Regions from separate parts of the Homo sapiens genome. Here all the other regions are linked to region 2. Evidence: promoter capture Hi-C in 16 types of primary human blood cells and fetal thymus (Javierre and others, 2016). All regions are on one chromosome and are shown on one strand. Each heading gives the region's core, a stretch centred on a gene start or on the middle of the fragment in contact. The rest is flanking DNA. Distances are from core to core; before and after follow the strand shown. Region 1 overlaps NDC80 (NDC80 kinetochore complex component). Region 2 holds the start of MYL12B (myosin light chain 12B). Region 3 overlaps DLGAP1 (DLG associated protein 1). Region 4 overlaps METTL4 (methyltransferase 4, N6-adenosine). Region 5 overlaps METTL4 (methyltransferase 4, N6-adenosine). Region 6 holds the start of DLGAP1-AS4 (DLGAP1 antisense RNA 4). Region 7 overlaps DLGAP1 (DLG associated protein 1).

Region 1 (2,700 bases), core at 58-2,557, 670 kb before region 2:
ATCAGTGATACACCTTTCCAGTTACAGGAATACTCAGACTGCCTATTCAGGGTACTCACTTCAAGGTCACCTTAATAAGCAATGAATTAGCACAAAGGGAATTGGTTTGTCTTGAGGGATATTTACTTCATCTAAGGTATGGAAAATTCTGATCATCCATTCTTGCCTTCTCATAAAGTCTACATTCTCAGTGACCAAAACATCTCATGAATGCAAAATATAGTGTTATTTTCTCTTGGATAAATGTTAAGAATTCTAGTATTGTACTGTTTAGATTGCTACTCATCATGCAATTCATTTTTTAGCCTGAAGTTACAATGTAATTGTAGCCTTCATTAATTACATTTGGGTTTTTACAATTAGACCTTATCAATTCAATTGGACTTAGATGATCAGCAGTTTATTTAAATTTTTCATCAGGTGCTTTATTCCTAAAGATGATTAAGTTTGTGCATTTTATGTTGAATTACATTTATTAATAAGCTTCCCTGTTTGTTTGACCTTCTCAAAATTCTGAAGGTATGGCTGTTTTTAAATATTGCCTTTATCCAAATTTAAGTGTTATTTTATCCTCATTATTCATATTTAGAAGTAGCAGACTAAATAAGTCCATATAGCATAATTATATAGCCTAGGTTTTTGTCTCTTATTTATAGGTTCATCTGACTACTTAGTATTTCTGACTATTTTTTAAATTCAAATATAAATTTCCACCTAGAAAAGTGAAACAGACCAAATAGAGAATCATAACTTTGTTTCTAAAATCTGCTTAACCCCATAGTTGTTTTTGGACTACACCATAAAATGCTATGAGAGTTTTATGAGTGGTGCCGACAGCTTTGATGAGATGAATGCAGAGCTGCAGTCAAAACTGAGTAAGTGTTCTCGTTCTTAGGGTGCTTGCTTTTGGTCATTTCACTCTGCTCATGGAGTGGTAATTTATTTACCATATCCAGTGTTCATATGAGCTACTTACTTTAAATGTATCTGGATGCCTACTGATTTTTATCTTTGTGGTTTCTTTGGTGGAGAGAAGTTAAACAAAAAGAATACTAGTGTTGGAGCCAGACCTGAGCCATAACATCTTACTGTCTGTGGCGCCTTAATAAAATACTTGACCTCCTGACAAAGTGTAGCAGCAGTAGATGACAGTATAATAAAGTCATAATATACCAAACATGCTACCAGAAGCATAGACAATAATTAGCAAATGCTATTCCTCTTGGGGGATAATATCCCTACGTTGTCCTTGCTTACTATTTGAGAAATTAAAGCACCAATTAGTCAAAAGACCTAAGGTCTCTTTCAAAATTTGTGGCAAAAAGTTAACAAGACATTATACTTCCAAATATGTAAGGAAAATCTTTTTTTTTTTTTACTCATTTACAACCTAGTGACATACAGTATTTACTAGATAACTCTAAAACATTCCAGAGGTATTATTTTACATTTTCATTCTTTCTATTGAAATAGTCTTGTATATAAAATGCCAAAATGGAAGGTAAAATAGATAAATGGAGGTGAAGCTATTCCTCCAACAATGGAATCAATCACTTTGCCAGTATTATCACAAAAGCTGAAAGCATTCCCTTATAGTCCCCTGGGATTGTATCTTCCTGAAGAGTAACCAGGACAATTTCAGCTTGTTCACATGGGAAAGGGAGCAAAATAAATGGCTTTGTTTTAAGAGAGGAAAATTTAGAGTGATCTAAGCATCTAATGAGTAATTTGATATTTCTGTATATAATTAACCAAGCATAAAAACTGCATTCATTTATTCAAATAAATATTTTTTGTATACCTACTATGTGCCAGCCACCATTTAGGCACTGAGGATACAGTAATGAATAGGATAAAAACCTCTGCCCTTATGAGCTTACATTTTAGTAGACAGAAAGAGGAAAATAATGAAATGAGCAACTTTAAGTCAAATGGTGATAAGCGCTTTGGAGAAAAATCAAGCAGGACAAGGAGAGTCGAAGTACGGTGGAGTAATGGAAAGGGTTTGCTGTTTTACAAGGATGGGATGTACTTCACTAATAGTGTTTTGGGCAGAGACCAGAAGGAAGTGAGGGAGGGAGTAATGGTGAAAACTTGGGAAAGAATGTTCTAGGCGGATTTGAGGTCTTAAAAAGCTTTTGGATTTTGTCTCCAGAGGATTTATTTAATGTGGATGCTTTTAAGCTGGAATCATTAGAAGCAAAAAACAGAGCATTGAATGAACAGATTGCAAGATTGGAACAAGAAAGAGAAAAAGAACCGGTTAGTAAACATGTTTACACACTTACTTGAGAGCTCTTTTAGACTTTTGGGTGTCCTTGGATATTAGCTGTCTTTATCAAAATTTTAAAAAATAGATTAACAAATTAAGCTTCTTAAAAGTTAAATTTTCACCTAGAAACTCCCAATGAAAACATGTTTGGTATCTGTGGAGCCTTGTTTTCCCTTGCGGTCTATCAGTCTTAGACTAATGGTGCTCTGGATATGATGAAAGATTCTTACCTACTTACATAAGATCAAAAGTACTTTTGAACAAAGGCCCTGTGTTATATACCTCTAGGGAGCATTAGTCACAAGAAGCCCTGAGTTTTGGAGGTAGTGCAAAAGGAATGGTTAATAAATGGGTTTATATAGTATATTGTATCCTGAGTTTTCTAAAAGCTAAATATTAATATCCAGTTATCTAACTTTATTTTCTGC
Region 2 (2,701 bases), core at 186-2,685:
AATTTAAGTTTAGCTGCATGTGGTTAGTGACGATTGTATTGGACAGCACAATTCTAGAAACTTTTTTTTTTTTAATTTAGACTATCGAACCAAAACCTAAGAGTAAATATTGTAGAACCAGGTGTGACTTTTCAGCAATTGCTTTTCTAACACTATTGAGAAAATACACACAGTTATGAACCGCGTTTAGAGCTGTGCTGCTGGGATGGCGACCACCCCATCAGCATCATGTGTGCTTACCAGAAATTCGAATTATCCTCCACCCCTTACTCACTGAATCCTGATACCCGGTTTTGAGGCTCAAAAATGTTTTTAAAAGCCCTGTTATTATGCGTGCTACTGTTTAAGAACTGCTACAGAGTGCTGAACACAAGGTCCCTCTCTTCTAGGAATTTCTGATCAAAGATTTCTAGAATATAAACTCCCTAAGAGGCTTTGAATTCATCTCTCAGCATCCGGCACATGTTAAGGCAGTAAGAAGAGTTCAATAAAGATTTGCTATTAGATTGCCGATCCTCCACCATCCTGAAGTAATGCTATTTTAGTAATGCTAGATGAAGTAATGCTAGATTACCTCAAGGTGAGGGAAAATATCCTGAAGAACACAGCCACAAACACGATCTAGAACAAAACCTGAAAAACGTAGCTTTGTGTTTTTATTTGTGTGTGCATGTATGTGTGTGCGTTGCCATTTTCTTGATAAAGGAAAGCAAGTAGTTCGAATAAAACTTTCTTGTGGCCAAAAGGGGAATCAAACAGCCGTAGGCTGCGGCCGTAGCCTGATACGGCCGTAAACCTTATGAGGGTAAGCAGAGAGGAGTAGGTTAAAGAATTTAACTCGGGCTGTAATGCGGTTTGAAAAGAGAAAGGGATTCTGGAACGGAGAAGAATCCGCCCAGGCGCCGCCCTCACCTTCTCAACATTACATGAGACGAACCCTAAAACCTGTCTTGTCTGAAATTCAAATTTAGAAGAACTGTACTTTTACTTGCTACATCTGGCAACTCAGGGTTCGGCGCCAGGGGACCCCAAATCCTAGGCGGATCGCGCCCCGCCTGGGTCAAAGGGGACCCCAAATCCTCGGCCGATCGCGGCCCACTCGGGTCAAATTCCAGCGGCCTGCCCAGCCGCGCCCAGCGGGCCCAGGAATGCGGAAGGGTGGCGGAGCTACCAAAGGAGCGGGGGACGAGGGCCGGGCTGCGGACGACCGCCGCAGCGCAGGCCGCGATATCGCAGCGGATCGGAGCAGGCCGGAGGGGCAATTAAGACCCCGGCCGTGTGCGTCCGGCCTCAGCAGCCCCGCCGCTCGGCGGACACGCAGACCCCGCCGGCCCGGGCGCGAACACTCAGCGCACCCCCGTTCCACTTGGTCCCGCCGCGCCTTCCGGTGCGCCTTCCGGTGCGCCTTCCGGTGCGCCTTCCGCTCCGCCCCTTCAGGCAGGAAGTGTCGGCGCCGCCACTGTCCGGCCACAGCCTAACGCTCTTCGCTGTCGTTTGTGGTCTCGCGCAGGGCGGCCCCGGTTCTGGTGTTTGGCGTCGGGTGAGTCGCGCTCGACTCTGCTCGCGAGACCCCTCGGGCCGCCGTCTCCGTACCCCCGCGCCCCCTCCCGTCGCGCGCCTGCGGCCGGACCCCGCCCCAGGGCGGCCAGGCGGCGGCAGGACCTGTCAGACTGGCTGAGAAGGGGGCGCGGGGCCGGAGGTGGAGGGAGGAGGGTTGGCGGCGGGAGGAGGGTTGGTGGCGAGGCCCTGGCCCGGACGTCCAGGGGCCGGGAGGCTGCAGGCGATGGAGCCGGTATGGGGAGACGCCCTGCTGGAGAAGTGGCCGGGTCCCGGCCGTGCGTGGGCCGGCCCTGCGCCACCTGGGTGACCTCAGACACCTGGGCCTTGGACGGCCCGGCTGCCCGGCGGCCAACGCCTGCCCTCCCGGCGCCGCGGCGGGTCCTGGCGGTGGATTGGGGCCGACCCGGGCGTGTTCGTGTGGAGCACCTGCCCTGTGCCCAACACTATCCTAGATGCTTTGGAGGGTGGAGGAGCCTCCTGTTGCACGGTCTTGCCTAAGGTGAAGCCTCCAAGGAAGCCATTAGCATGCCGGTAACCGAGTGTGTGGTTGATACGGGCTCAAATGTGATGATTTACATAGAGTTGTAATTCGCTCAGTGTGTCTTGCATCTTGTAAAGGTTTAGTTTATTCGTGTTGATTGAAGAAAGGACCATTAACAGAAATAGGGAAAGGTTACTTGGAAAAGAGTCGTGACCTCACTGAAGGCCTTGGATTCAACCTTAAGAGGGAGAACTTAGCGTTTCCGGCTAGATGTGTGGGAGGTGGTAACGAGCAAAACTCAAAAGCTGGGAATTGTGTCCTGTGAAAAGCAGGCCGTGGGGACACCGGCGGGTATGGAACAGAACTGTAATGACTAATAGTCGGAAATAAGGGTAGATAGGTAAGTAGGACCTTCTTATGGATGTCTTGAAAACTTAGGAGAAAGAAAAGATTATCTAAGAAGCCATAGAGAGTAATTTTGGAGTCTTCACTAACGGAGTAATAAGAAAGGGATGTTTAGAGGATTCGTTTGGCCGCTTTAGTTTAAGGTAGATTTGGAATGGTCTTTTGGTAAGAGAAGAATCAAAGCATTTAGAATTCAGTAGGACCTGATAGATTACCTTGTGAAGGCTTTGCGTTTTATAACTGAGGAAAGTGAAA
Region 3 (2,743 bases), core at 184-2,683, 660 kb after region 2:
AACTGTGCTAATATCAGCTTTAAACTTGATGAACGTCAGGTGGCTGTGAGACCCAGCAGGAGACGACCAGCACACAGTTAGATATGAGGTTCTGGAGTTCAGGAAGAGTGCTCTATTGAGAGATCTAGATTTGGAAAATTATAGCATGAGAGCAGGACAGTTGCCGCCTCAGACCTGAGGGGATGCCAACATTTAAAGCAAGAGGCAGAAGGGCTCCTGCAGGAGACAGGGAATTGGGAAGGCAGCAGGTTAAAATGAGGCAAGTGGTCATCAGTAGCAAATGCCACAAATAGGAAATGTGAGATCAAGACCAAAAAAGAACATTTAATTTGACAATTGGGAGATTGCTGAGTTCCTTTATCTGAGCAGTTTTGCTGCAGTTAAGGGTCCAAAAAAGCTTCGTTTTAGTTAAATAAATAATAAATTAAAAGAAAATAAGTGAGGAAAAACAGGTTTGACAATTATTTTTAGGATCTTGACAATGAATGAAAAGGAGAGGTGCCCGGCATTAAGCCAGGCACTAGGGATATGAAGTCTTTACCCCTGGAGAAGAATTCCTCAGTAATAGCATTGTCATTTGTGCGTGTTTAAGATGAAATGCTCATGTATTACTCTCTAGGGATAAAGGAAAAATAAAGCTACAATCTTTGGATTCCATTCCCCATTGTTAACGGTTTTTCTTTTGTGTCATGCACAAAATAATCTACAACTTGTTTTCTTCACTTAATACTACATGATCTTGGACATATTGCAAATCATCAAAAAGAGGTTCAAAATAATTCCTTTTAATAGCTGCATATTATTTTACCTTCTGGCTTGATCAGGATTTATTTAACTGGCCCTTTATGGAGGAATGTTTTTTGTTTCTAGCTTTGTGCTATTTGAAGTCATCTCTCAGTTATTTTCATATATATCCATTTCCATGAAGTAAATTACTACAAATGGAGTTACTTCTGGGTAAAAGGATTTAGGTAGCTTCAGATTTAATAAATACTGTCAAATTTATTTTCAAAAAGCATGCACTAGGCCGAGTGTCGTGGTTCGTTCCTGTGATCCCAGCACTTTGGGAGGCTGAGCGGGGAGGATCTCTTGAGGTCAGGAGTCTGAGACCAGCCCAGCCAACATGGTAAAAACCTCATCTCTACCAAAAATATAAAAATTAGCTGGGCGTGGTGGCGCACGCCTGTGGTCCCAGCTACTCGGGAGGCTGAAGTGAGAGGATCACTTGAACCCAGGAGGCGGAGGTTGCAGTGAGCCAAGACTGTACCACTGCATTCCAGCCTGGGCGACAGAGAGAGAACCTGTCTCAAAAAAAAAAAAAAAAAAAAAAGCACTAATTTTGCTCCCACTAACAGTGTTCATACTGTTCATTGAATAGTGTTCATTGGAGAAGAACAGGGTCTTCTCCAGTCTTACCAGTCCTGGGTATAATAAACTCTTAAATATCTTTTGGATGAAATCAGTATCTTATTTGATTTTTAAAAAATGATGTCTTGTTTTAATTTTCACATTATTATAAATAAGACTGAACAACTTTTCACATGTTTATTTGCCGTTTTTGTATTTCTTCTGTAAACTTTTTGTTTATAACTTCTGCTCTTTTTCATTAAATTAAAATTTTTATTTGTAAAAATTCATTGGCTTTATGGGAAATTATTGCTTTGTCAGTCAAGTTTTACAGATATTTTTCCAGTTTAATGTCTTTTTTAACTTGTTTGTTGTTTTTATGTAGCCAAATTTATAAATATTTTACTTCAAAATCTGGTTTACATCGTGTTTATAAAAGTTTTCCCAACTTTGAGTTTAAAAAAACATCACTTTAGTTTCCATTTTTTAAATTCCAAAGATGATTCCTTAATCTTTGGTGATACCAATTTCTATCGTGTGTCACTCTTGCTATCTGGAAGTATAACCAAAGTCCCTTACATTCCTCTGTACTAAAACAGTAATCCTGTTGTTTTGGTATTAACACATTTTTGAATAAATTTTTATCATATTGCTGATTCACTTTTAGAAAGGAGAATCATAAAATTACATCAAAGTCGTGGCATCTAAGTTAGAGACAAAACCAGTATCTTAAAGGAGATGGTGCTGGTGTTGAGTCACTATCTAATGACGACTCACCAAGCAATCCTGCTTACTGTTCAGCTCAAATGCACTGGAGAAAACATGATTCTCTAACCACATTTGAGAGTTCAGCCACATGTAGAGACATGGAACCTTCACATCTTTCCTCTATCTGTTGTTTAAAAGTGTCAGTGATGTCACAGAAATAACTATTTCATGGAGTGTCACTATTACAGAAATAGTGAGCCTGGCAGAGGCTAGAAAGCAACCGACTCTCTCACGTCATATTAGCTACATCGCCATAGAATCACTGCTGCCCCAGTGGAAAGAAGTGAAAAGCCCATTTATCATCTTGCATATACCCTCCTCAATCAGTTGCCTGGAAAACCATGGGGAAATATAAAAAGCTTTTGGTTGAACAGTTCAGAAAACAAAACCAGTTCCACTACACTCTCCCAGGTGTGGTGCCCTAGGTCCACACCCTCCACTTCCTCCCCCACTGCCACCCTATTCTCTCATGAAGCTCCCTAGATTTTCTGTTTATGTTTTCCTTCTCTTTCAAGATGCCAACATTTTCTCCACAAAGCAGTTTACTAAGTCAATGCCATTAGCATACACAAATCTCAAGTTTTGGGGGAAAAAGAAACCCTACAAAAAACCCTTGGAGGTGAACTTG
Region 4 (2,735 bases), core at 164-2,663, 700 kb before region 2:
TACTATTTAATGTGTAGTTTCAGTTTGGATGTGGTAATGATGGCATGACACTCTGAATGTACTTAGTGCCACTAAATTGTACATCTAAAAATGGTTAAAACAGTAAATTTTATGATACGTATATTTTACCTATTTAAAAAAACCACAAATTACTAATAAAAGCAATGAAAAAGTTATCATCACCACAGATCCTACAGACATTAAAAGAAAGCATAAGATAACATGACTTCATGCTAACAAATTTGACAACTAGGATGAAATGAACACATTTCTGTTTTTTGTTTTTTATTTTTTCGAGAGGGAGTCTCTCTGTCACCCAGGCTAGAATGGAGTGGCATGATCTCGGCTTACCGCAACCTCCACCTCCCAGGTTCCAACAATTCTCCTCCCTCAGCGTCCCAAGTAGCTGGGGTTATAGGTGCCCACAACCACACCTGGCTAATTTTTTTATATTTTTAGTAGAAATGGGATTTCACCATGTTGGCCAGACTGGTCTCCAATTCCTAACATCAAGTGATCTGCCCACCTCGGCCTCCCCATAGTGCTGTGATTACAGGCATGAACCACCATGTCCAGCCTGAAATGAACACATTTCTTAGAAAATAAAACTTGTGAAAACTGACATCAATAGAAACAAAAAACCTGAAAATCCGGTTCTCTATTAAAAAACCTGATTTTGTTACTAAAAACCTTCCCCCATGACAATTAAAACACAACACATCGGAACGTACATGATGTTGCTAAAGCTGTGCCCAGAGAAAAAGTCTCATCATTAAATTCTTCTATCAATAAATAAAGAAAAAAGAAAAGAGGAAAAAAGTAAAGTTGCCAAAAAAGTATCCACCACAAAAAGCAACACACTGAGATGGTTACAAAGTGGGGGTTCTATCAAACTTTATCAAACTTTTAAAGAACAAATTATCCCAATTATTTTTCTATTGCTCCAGAAAATTGGAAAGTAAAAAGAAGGAAAACTTCTAGCTTCCAACACGAGAGGGCTAATAAGTTCTCCAGCGTGCAAACATCCTACATATTTACATATATAATTATATATAAGGCCGAAGAAGTAAATATATCAGACCAATCTCTCTTATGACTGTCCCAAATAAAACATTAGCAAATAAAATCCAGTAGAGGCCGGGCGCAGTGGCTCACGCCTATAATTCCAGCACTTTGGGAGGCCGAGGCGGGCAGATCATGAGGTCAGGAGATTGAGATCATCCTGGCTAACACAGTGAAACCCCGTGTCTACTAAAAAAATACAAAAAATTAGCTGGGCGTAGTGGCGGGCGCCTGTAATCCCAGCTACTCGGGAGGCTGAGGCAAGAGAATGGCATGAACCCAGGAGGCAGAGTTTGCAGTGAGCGGAGATGGGCCACTGCACTCCAGCCTGGGCGACAGAGCGAGACTCTGTCTCAAAAAAGAAAATCCAGTAGAACATTTTAAAAATAGTAACATCATGATCATTTGGAATATATTCTGCAAATGCAAGGATGGTTAATTGAGGAAGAATCATAGGAAAAATCTATTCAGTCTCCTTCAATAGGATCAATAGGTTCATGGAAAAAAATTTTTAAAAAAGAAAAAAAAAATCTGTTCAATCTCCATATATGCCTAACATGTTATTTCCAACTCAGTTGAAACCCAGTATTATGCTTAATGATGAAATTATCCCCCTTGTCAAGCACAAGACAAAGTAAATATGCTCACATATATTACTTATGTTTATTATGCACACAAATATTCTTTAATATTGTATTATAATTTCCACCCTACAGAATTAGAGAAGAAATCAGAAACATGATAATTGGAAAGGTATAAGTAAAATTACTACTATTTGAAAGAGTTCTATATCTGGAAAATCCAAGAGATACAACAACAAAAAATTACTACAACTTAACAAGAAACCTGCAAGGCCTTTATAAAGAAAATTTTACACAACGACAAAACAAAACGTGAGCAAATGGAAAAATACATTCATGTTTTGGGGCGGAATCACCAACATCTTAAAGATGTCAACACTGCCCTAATTTAATTTAGAAATTTAACTTGATGCCATAAAAATGGCAACAGGTTTTCTAACTAGATGTTATCATTGATCCTAAAATTTATATGGGGAAAGAAAACAAATTTATTAAAAAGAGGAGTGATGAGAAAAGGATGGGGATGGGCAGGACTGGCACTACCGGATAGTCAAACCTCTAAATCTGATTCAGCAAATATTCTGTCCTACTACTTTTTAAGAGTTTGATTCCATTCTGCAGCACATTTCATAATTTGTATTTATGATTAATACAAGTATTTAGCAATTAGAATATACATGAATTCAAGAAATTCTATTCTCTAATTTCATGTAAACTTTAAAGTGAAAGTAAATCTTATTAATTTTTTTATAGATATAAATACCCTGGATTTTCCTGGTATTTCTGCAGTTAACCTTGCAAGTGTCATTTCCAGAAAATAAGTGTATTTCCAAAATTAACAGATAAACTGCTCACATTGAGGGATTTAACATTTGTGTATTCAGCTGTCTTCAGAACATTTAAAACCCAATGTGTTTACGAAAACCACAATAAGATACCACTTTATATCCGTCAAAATGGCTATGATTAAAAAAAAGGGGGGCAGGGGCTGCATACAGTGGCTCTTGTCTGTATTCCCAGCACTTTGGGAGGCCAAGGCAGGAGGACTGCTTGAGCCCAGGAGTTCAAGACCAGCCTGGGCAACATAGTTAA
Region 5 (2,765 bases), core at 189-2,688, 720 kb before region 2:
GTTCTAGGAGATACTGGCACGAAGGCTTCTAACCCTTTCCTAAGTGCATAAATTAAATGCTACTAACCTTGAAAGAGAAAGATTTCCCTAGAGTCTTGGAGGAAATAACCCCACATGGAAGAACTTTTCCATTTTCTTCCCATGAATTTAACGCCTCACCAGCCTCAGTTCACTTTAATGTGGTCTCAGGTTACGCTGAAGAAAGGTTTTGTTTGTTTTTGTTTCATTTGTTCAGATTTTTGGTACGAAGATGTTAGCAACCCTATTTTAGAAATTTAAACTGGAGTCAGCCAGTCAAAAATGTTTCCTCTTCTGAGCACCCACTATAATCAGTGTTATAAAACTTAAACAAAGGAAGCAGAATATCCATGTTTTATGAGAGTTTACAATCTAATGGAAAATAATGGCCAGGTACTTGGATGGAGTGGAAAAATACATACAACCTAAACCCATTTACTGCCATCCTATTTTCTCAATGTAGTAAGTTTTTGCATGGTTCTTTTCCTTTCTAGTTAAGAAAAACAGAATATTAAGTTGTGTTTTTATAATGTTAACTACAATTATTTTATTTCAAAATAAGGGAGAAGAAATAAAGGCAAATTAATAAAAATGGATTATTCTGGTTTTTAAATATTAATTTAAAAATAAATGTGAATGTATAAATTTAAACATGAGTATGACACATAAACTTCAACAATTACATAACATCTGGAGTTAGTAAAACACACTTTAACTAATGGAGCGGATGCAATCTGTGCACAGCTAGTCATTTCGTTTTTGCTCTGAAAGCATGGGGCAGGAGTAAGAGAGAAGTGGCCCAAACATCAGTGCATATAATCCCATCAACTAAACTTCACTCTTCAGATGGAAACTGTTAGTATGTAAAGCAGTAAAAAGAAGTGGAAATTCCTCTAAGGTAAAATGTGAAAGCTAAAATTTTGATTTAAATACTTTATTTCATGATTTTCCTACCTTAAATCTTCAAACAATATCACTTTATAATGTTAGGTTGTAAACCATAGCTATTGATAGCTTATCTTTCAATCGGAGAAAATTTCAAAACTTATGCAAATGTATCATTTTGAAATGCCATATGCTACCAATGTGGTCTCCTACATTTTGCAACAGAAATAACCAATTAAACTTAAAAAAAAAAAATCAGGGTGTTTCTAAATACAAAAGAGAAAACATTTCATTTTATTAATTTGCATAAAACAGTTTAAGAATATTTAAATGTAAAAGCTGTAAGCATTATATACAGAATATATATCATCCCAAACCCCTAGAGTTATGATTTCAGGGTAAAATATACTGCAGAAATCTGAGAGATGCTTTCTGAAATATATAGAAACATGAACTATACTAAAAATATATACAGTAACATGAACTCAAAAATAAAATATTACAATATTTCCTATCACTACTTAACCAAAACATAAGATTTTATATATATATGGAGTTATTCAGATGTTTCCTCCAGAATCTAACTTTTGTCTTTAAATGTTTTCAATGCTAAAAATGTGTTTGTGCTGCTCTCTACTGGGAATGAGGAAGAACTGCATTTCAAAGATATAAGCTGTAATGCTTTAGGGCAAGACTCATTTTTTTTTTCTTTTATTATTATACTTTAAGTTTTAGGGTACATGTGCACATTGTGCAGGTTAGTTACATATGTATACATGTGCCATGCTGGTGCGCTGCACCCACTAACTCGTCGTCTAGCATTAGGTATATCTCCCAATGCTATCCCTCCCCCCTCCCCCCACCCCACAACAGTCCCCAGAGTGTGATGTTCCCCTTCCTGTTTATTCACTATTTTAAAACCTGTCTCCTGAGGCTCATCTTTAAATATAACTTTATTTTATTTTAAAGGAATTGACAAATAGTTTACTATCATTTCAGAATGAAAAGTTTATGGTCTTAGCTTTTGAATTTTTAAAAGAAAAAAATAAGGTTTGAGACAAACACTAGCTTTGTTACCAAGTGATAAATAAAATTCAAATGAGAGGAATACATATACATATATAATCAGGTATTACTAGTGCCAAGTATAATTTTTTTTTCATGAGGAACAATGCAATCTCACTTTCACTTGAGTTATATATTAAAGCATTAAAGGTCTATGACAGTCCGAAGCATAAGGCAATCGATTATTCACTGAGAATCCTTCTTAGTCAAAGAATGGATTATCAGGTAGACATCTGTATATGTCTCAAATGAAGTAATACTATAAACACCCTTCTAGAGGCTGGGTGCGGTGGCTCATGCCTGTAATCCCAGCACTTTGGGAGGCCGAGGCGGGCGGATCACTTGAGGTCAGGAGTTTGAGACCAGCCTGGCCAACATGGCGAAACCCCGTCTCTACTAAAAATATAAAAATTAGGCATGGTGGCACACATCTGTAGGCCCAGCCACTCAGGAGGCTGAGGCAGGAGAATCACTTGAACCCAGGAGGTAGAGGATGCAGTGACCCAAGATCAGGCCACTGTATGTGACAGAGTGAGACTCCATCTCAAAAAAAAAAAAAAAAAAATTAAAAAAGGACCCTTCTCCATAAACTATTTAAGATAACAGAAATCCTAAGTGCTAGCAATAAAAATTCTCTAGGAATTTGTATTCACTTTCTCCATTTCCCAGGTCATAAACTGCCTCATATTCTGCAAGGTAACATAAGCTCCTGTAGTTTTCCTGAGTGGTAACTTGTAGCAGTTTTTTGTTGGTAGAAATTACCAAACCAATAAAATATGTATTCCTGAAGAAATCCT
Region 6 (2,700 bases), core at 188-2,687, 700 kb after region 2:
CCTTCATCCAAGGAGGGCACACACTGATGCCTGGTCAGCAGTGGGAGGGCAGACCTGGAGAACAGCTTTGCAGGCCTTGGAAGGGGCCTCAGGGCCAACTGACTGGGAATTCTACCATCCCAGGTACCTGGAGCATGGCCCACAAGTGGGGCAAGGGGAAGCATGGGCTTGGGGGCCTGCAGACTCATCATGCTGCTGTGAGGGGCATGGACAGAGGAAAGCCACAGAGGGGTCTTCTGACACAGGGCACAGGACAGTGGCTTGGGTTGCTCAGGTTTCAGGGAGGACTGGATGCAGGATGCTAACATGATTGACCAGGTTCTTGGACTCTGAGTCACATACAGTAAAGGATCCCTTCGCCGTGTATTAACAGGTCATGGGCAACACTTTGATCTTTCTTTGGTACAAGACAGTAGAAGATATTACCTTAGGATATTGATTCTCAAAAAGATCTGGGAATTTTTGCTTGAGATTAAAAAAATATATATGATGCACAATCAGGCAGTTACGTCTCAGTGGTAAGAATTTTTGTTTGCTACCACTTTTAATATCTGCAGTCCTTCTTTTTTGGATTCATTTGCTGAAATAAATTCCCTAGTTATTCTTTCAGAAAGGACGTCATCGGGTAAACTTTGTCCAATCACTCATCGTTTCTTCACATTAAATTTGAGTTTGAACTGGTAACAAACTAGTATTCATTTTCCCTGAGCACTTGGGAGAATTGATCCAATGACTGCTGGTGTGTAGAATGAATTGCGATGAAACATCTCATCCTACCTGCTCCTCATTCCCTTGTAAGTAATCTGTGTTCACTTCTCCCTGCAGCCTGGAACCTTTATATATTCATATATTTATTTATATGTAAATATTCTGAACATTTACCAAGCTGTGTACTTCAGGGAAATTTTCTTTTAATTTGGTCAGTATTTTCCCTCTTCCATTTTTTGTTCTTTTCTTCTGAAATTCCTATTTGATAGACGTTTGAGGTTTGGCTCTATCCATCATTCCTACATCACTCTTCCCATTCTTTCCATCCCTATGCTTGTTTTCATGATATTTTTAGGAATCCTTCCAGGACATTTATTCTTTAGTTGTATGCATTTTGCTTTGGACTGACAGCGTGTATCTCCCAGGAGTTTTAAAAAGAGTGGCTTGGTCTTATTTTATTGAATATTTGAGGACAAAATGATTACATTTCTTTGGTTATTATGCTTATCTGAAAATTGTCTTTGCTTTTTTTTCTGTTGACAAGGTCTCCTTGGGGTGAGTTAGTTCTTCAGTTTGTTGATTTGATGCTTCTTGTAGGTGTTGGTGTTCTTTCAAAGTTTGGTGATTCTCAGTTATCTATTCATGCTCATGTTGAAGGACTGGTTGAAGACTGAAAATTTCCTCAATCCAAATGAGAAGTGCTGTTTTCTATTCATGTGCATCTTGATCTCTTCTGTCTGCCTTCTATAATTGTGGGGAGAGCAGGATGGGGGAGACTGCTTTGCTTTGGGGGTGCCAGAGGGGATTTTTCCTTAACTGGAACATAGCCTTCTTGGCCTCTCTTGTTACAGTCCTCACTTCAGAATACCCACTTGGAGGCTTCACCTGAAGCTGGGCCAGTTCCAGCTCCAAAGGCTCCATTTCATTGCCCCCCTCACCCCCCAGGGTTCTACTCTGCTTCTCATAAATATAAACCAGCAGAAGAGCTTTTCCTTTGTTGAGAGCACAGTTGCTGGGCCTTGTGAGGCTGAAGGAAAGTGTGCAGCTGCCTGGACTCAAATGTGCATGAGGATGAGGTGCCCAGGCTACCCTGCTCTTCCAAGACCACCTCCTAATTACTGACACATTTGCCCCAGGTCCCTTTCTTGTACAGTTTGTCTCTGAGCTTCTCTCCTGGGCTGTGGTTTGTTTTTATCCTTTACCTTTGAAGCTCCATTCTCTTCTGTGTACTTTGGGCTGTTTTTTTTTTTTTTTTTTTTAGTGCAATTTTATACTTAATTGGATTACATTTGCCTTCTGGTTCTCTGCTTCATATTTTCAGTGTGATTATGGATTGATTCTTTGTTTCCATTGCAAGTACCTTGATATATGCCCTTGTCCCTCACCAAGGCTGTAGGTGTATCTTCTATGGGATCTCTAGTGTAAGCCCCTTCAGCTCACGTCCAACACCTAGGCTATCTGCTGTGACAGCCACTGGCCACATGTGACCATTGAGCCCTAGATTTCGAAGACTTTGTACAAAGAAAAAGGAAGGTAAAGCCCTTAAGAATAATGTAAATACCAATTAAAGTTTGAAATTTTAATATTTTGGATGCATTGGCTTAAACATAGCATTAAAGTTCATTTCATTTCTTTCTTTTTATTTCTATAATGTTGCTACTGGAAAATTTAAAATCGTATACGTGGCTTGGGTTATATTTCTATTGTTCTACACTGCAGGAGGCGTCATTCCTAAGATAAAATTAGGAGGAGTGGGTTAAGATGATGAGCTGGATATGTATACACACTCCCTATTTATTCTCAAATCTCAGCATAAAACACAAAAGTGTAAGATAATTTACACTCTTTAAAAAAGGGGCAGTGCAGACAGGAAGAACACCAGAGGTAAATTTCTTTGGCAGAATTTATGTGATTTAGGGATCTATTTATCATTAGTGGAAAGGCAGAAAAAGGCCCAGGAAAAAATTCAATGTTTCCACCTTGGGAAAATGG
Region 7 (2,700 bases), core at 116-2,615, 730 kb after region 2:
AGATTTTATAGTTTTTTACTGATGTCTTGCTCAGACTTTTTCAGTAAATATTGAAATGATTAGAATTAAATAGAATTCTTATATATTTGTATTTACTCATCTCTCTGTATTTCCGGTGGGGGGATAGAGTTCAAGGAAAAGTTTAAGAGACATGGTTGGTTCATTTCAGGAGTCCAAACCTTATGCTAATGAGGAAGCTTTGTCAGGGGAATTTCAGATATTGGCCAGTGGCAGTGGTGGGAACCTTGGGGTTAGCATCCTTGAAATAACACCGCAGAGGTGGTGAGTGGCCAGTGTGCCTGGATGACCCAGATTTGAGTGGGGTCTCTTCTGGAGGCTGACTGCCCAAGCAGCCTGAAGAATCACAGAGATACTTTCTGGTTGGTATTGCCCTTCTCCCTTCTCCCCAGAGCTATGCCTGATTTGGGCTGAGACAGTGGAAAATACACAATGCATGTTTCAGACATTCCTGCTTTAATATGTTAATATCTCACCCACTCTCCAGACCAGGAATCTCATATCTTGTCCTACTCTTTTCCACACAAAAAGAAAACTGCATTACATATAGAATTTTTCAGTGTAGCTGTTGCTTATCCCATTGTAACTAACCACTTTGATTTATTTTTTTGTGTATATCTTGCCTTGACACGCTTTCTTTATCGAAGACCACGGAAACATGGATTCTTTGTGATATTTTGAAAAATGACAAATTGAAGAGATTTTTATCTCTGGAGACTCAGCTTTTACATCATAAAGTACTTCTCTCCCCTGATGGCTAACCCAATCACATAGTTCCACAATAAACAAGATGAATCTAGATTCATAAGACAGTATGTGCAGAAAAATGCTGTTACTCTTTGTGGCTTCTTTCCCTGTGCCTTGAAAATGTTCATTAAAAATCTCCTACTTAGTTTGCCTCATTATATTGGTTTACTCATATTGGTCCCCTATTTTAATGATTTAAAGCACGTTTGAAAAGATTTCTTGTTTGGAACATCCTTGGCCAGGCCACTACTTTGTAAAGTAGGGAAGTCTGCAGGCCCTAGTTGTTCTTTTGAACTTAGTTCATAAAATGATTTTTAAACACTGATCTATCAGCTTTTCTCTTCTCTTTATCAAAATTAATAATTCACATAAAAGCCACCTATTTAAATGGAGTCTCAGCTGGGTACGGTGGTTTACGCCTGTAATCCCAACACTTTGGGAGGCTGAGGCGGGTGGAATGCTTGAGTCCAGGAGTTCCAGACCAGCCTGAGCAACATGGTGAAATCTGTTTTCTACAAAAATTACAAAAATTAGCCAGGTGTGGTGGTGCACAACTGTGGTCTCAGCTAACTGGGAGGCTAAGGCGGGAGGATCACTTGAGCCTGAGAGGCAGAGGCTGCAGTGAGCCGTGATTATGCCACTGTACTCCAGCCTGGTGACAGAGCCAGACCCTGTCTCTAAATAAATAAATAAATAAATGGAGTTCCATTGTTAGCAACTTACACAACCTGGAAAAATCAACTGATCTATAAATATTGGCATGGATGAGTGTACAAATACTTTCAAAAAGAATTACAATTTCTCTGTAATAACTATCAAGGTTATTTGGCTAATAGGGGGTCCCTGGAAGACCTTTAAGACCTGTCTGTAAAAGAAAAGGAACGCTGGCAATTCACAAGACACCTCAGCAATGTAGCATCTGCTCCTGGGGCAGGTAACAAAATCCAGTTTTAAATTTTGCTCTTAACAGTTAAGGAGATAATCAAGTCAGCTTGGGATTGGGTTGTGCACAGGAAGGCTGCAAAAAGATTACAAAATAGCCTCCCCCTGGCAGAAATGTAAAAAAGCCATTCCATGATTTTTTTTTTTCAGTTCTGCCAACGATTTATCTTCAGAAGACAAGCAGATGAGGAGACAAAACCTACTGATGTGGGTACCCAAGCAGGAACCCCCCTCTTGCACCGGCGACTCACGTGGGAAGAAGGTAGGAAATCAACAGCATAGGGGAAAGAAAAGGAAAAGGAGTTTGGAAACAGGATAAGACAGGCTTCTTTTGAATAATGGAGAGGACTCTTAGAAAAAAGAAAAGAAACAGAATAAATTTTTATTCACTGATTCCATTTCAGCGCAGCAAATTCTCATTGATTTTAATCAATTGCTTTCTTACAGAGTTTTGTCCATATGTATGTGACAAAATCAGCGGTCATTTAATGACAGACTTAGAATGTGTGCTAAGAATGAAACCATTGAGATTTCCTTGTCTTTCCTCCTTTCAGTAAAAATCATGAAGGGGAGAAAGGGAGGGGGTGAGGGTGGGGCAAGGAGAGCAATATTTTATAAAAGTGACAACGCGTTTTGCATTTGAATTATTATTTATTTTCCCTGGTGGAGTTTCAAGCAGGTTATTGCAAGGAAAGGAAAAACTGGAAATTAACCAAACGTGGTCCAGACTGGGGATGACGAGTTTAGCAGGGGCTTTAATGGGACCTCCTAAGCGATTCAGGAGAGAATGAATCTCTCATAGTTTCCCTTCTCATGGGATCACTGACCAAGCTTCCCCAAATCAGGGTGCAGCAACAAAATCAGGGTGCAGCATCTTTTAAGTGGGCTTAAGACCCACTTAAAAGCTTATCATAGCGAGATGTTGAGAAGATAAAGTTTTAGTTTTTTATAGAGCAGAAAATATATATGAGATGAGGAATAAAAGGTTCTGTC

Evidence for each region. The method cuts DNA at HindIII sites, captures the fragments that hold promoters and counts their contacts. A CHiCAGO score of 5 or more calls a contact.
Region 1: a contact is called between a fragment that was not itself captured here and the fragment with the promoter of MYL12B in region 2, in 1 of 17 cell types (fetal thymus). The highest score is 6.0, in fetal thymus.
Region 3: a contact is called between a fragment that was not itself captured here and the fragment with the promoter of MYL12B in region 2, in 1 of 17 cell types (erythroblasts). The highest score is 5.9, in erythroblasts.
Region 4: a fragment that was not itself captured here is called in contact with the fragment with the promoter of MYL12B in region 2 in 1 of 17 cell types (neutrophils); the score reaches 5.1 in neutrophils.
Region 5: a fragment that was not itself captured here is called in contact with the fragment with the promoter of MYL12B in region 2 in 1 of 17 cell types (neutrophils); the score reaches 5.2 in neutrophils.
Region 6: a contact is called between a fragment that was not itself captured here and the fragment with the promoter of MYL12B in region 2, in 1 of 17 cell types (erythroblasts). The highest score is 5.3, in erythroblasts.
Region 7: a fragment that was not itself captured here is called in contact with the fragment with the promoter of MYL12B in region 2 in 3 of 17 cell types (erythroblasts, megakaryocytes and M1 macrophages); the score reaches 12.3 in erythroblasts.

The regions. Positions count from the first base shown.
Region 1 is chr18:2,587,049-2,589,748 of GRCh38, forward strand. NDC80 (NDC80 kinetochore complex component) reads left to right here. Exons shown (of 17, transcript NM_006101.3): 8 at 782-875; 9 at 2,156-2,262. Among named protein-coding and RNA genes, the nearest start is that of NDC80, 17 kb to the left of the region's middle. RefSeq lists an enhancer at 2,086-2,700. The HindIII fragment of the contact is 1,652 bases long and covers 482-2,133 here.
Region 2 is chr18:3,260,698-3,263,398 of GRCh38, forward strand. It overlaps MYL12B (myosin light chain 12B), which reads left to right and starts at 1,436. Exons shown (of 4, transcript NM_033546.4): 1 at 1,436-1,540. MYL12-AS1 (MYL12A and MYL12B antisense RNA 1) reads right to left here and starts at 1,662. Exons shown (of 4, transcript NR_130145.1): 1 at 1,356-1,662; 2 at 575-633. RefSeq lists an enhancer at 832-881 and a silencer at 1,092-1,981. The HindIII fragment of the contact is 3,443 bases long and covers 1-2,701 here.
Region 3 is chr18:3,921,826-3,924,568 of GRCh38, forward strand. The region is part of intron 3 of DLGAP1 (DLG associated protein 1); the gene reads right to left. Among named protein-coding and RNA genes, the nearest start is that of MIR6718, 38 kb to the left of the region's middle. The HindIII fragment of the contact is 2,077 bases long and covers 396-2,472 here.
Region 4 is chr18:2,559,461-2,562,195 of GRCh38, forward strand. The region is part of intron 3 of METTL4 (methyltransferase 4, N6-adenosine); the gene reads right to left. Among named protein-coding and RNA genes, the nearest start is that of METTL4, 11 kb to the right of the region's middle. The HindIII fragment of the contact is 4,359 bases long and covers 1-2,735 here.
Region 5 is chr18:2,540,600-2,543,364 of GRCh38, forward strand. All of the region lies in intron 8 of METTL4 (methyltransferase 4, N6-adenosine), which reads right to left. Among named protein-coding and RNA genes, the nearest start is that of METTL4, 30 kb to the right of the region's middle. The HindIII fragment of the contact is 8,684 bases long and covers 1-2,765 here.
Region 6 is chr18:3,961,637-3,964,336 of GRCh38, forward strand. The region is part of intron 3 of DLGAP1 (DLG associated protein 1); the gene reads right to left. DLGAP1-AS4 (DLGAP1 antisense RNA 4) reads left to right here and starts at 717. Exons shown (of 5, transcript NR_102696.1): 1 at 717-794. The HindIII fragment of the contact is 6,261 bases long and covers 1-2,700 here.
Region 7 is chr18:3,991,234-3,993,933 of GRCh38, forward strand. The region is part of intron 3 of DLGAP1 (DLG associated protein 1); the gene reads right to left. DLGAP1-AS4 (DLGAP1 antisense RNA 4) reads left to right here. Exons shown (of 5, transcript NR_102696.1): 2 at 1,858-1,969. Among named protein-coding and RNA genes, the nearest start is that of DLGAP1-AS4, 30 kb to the left of the region's middle. The HindIII fragment of the contact is 2,341 bases long and covers 196-2,536 here.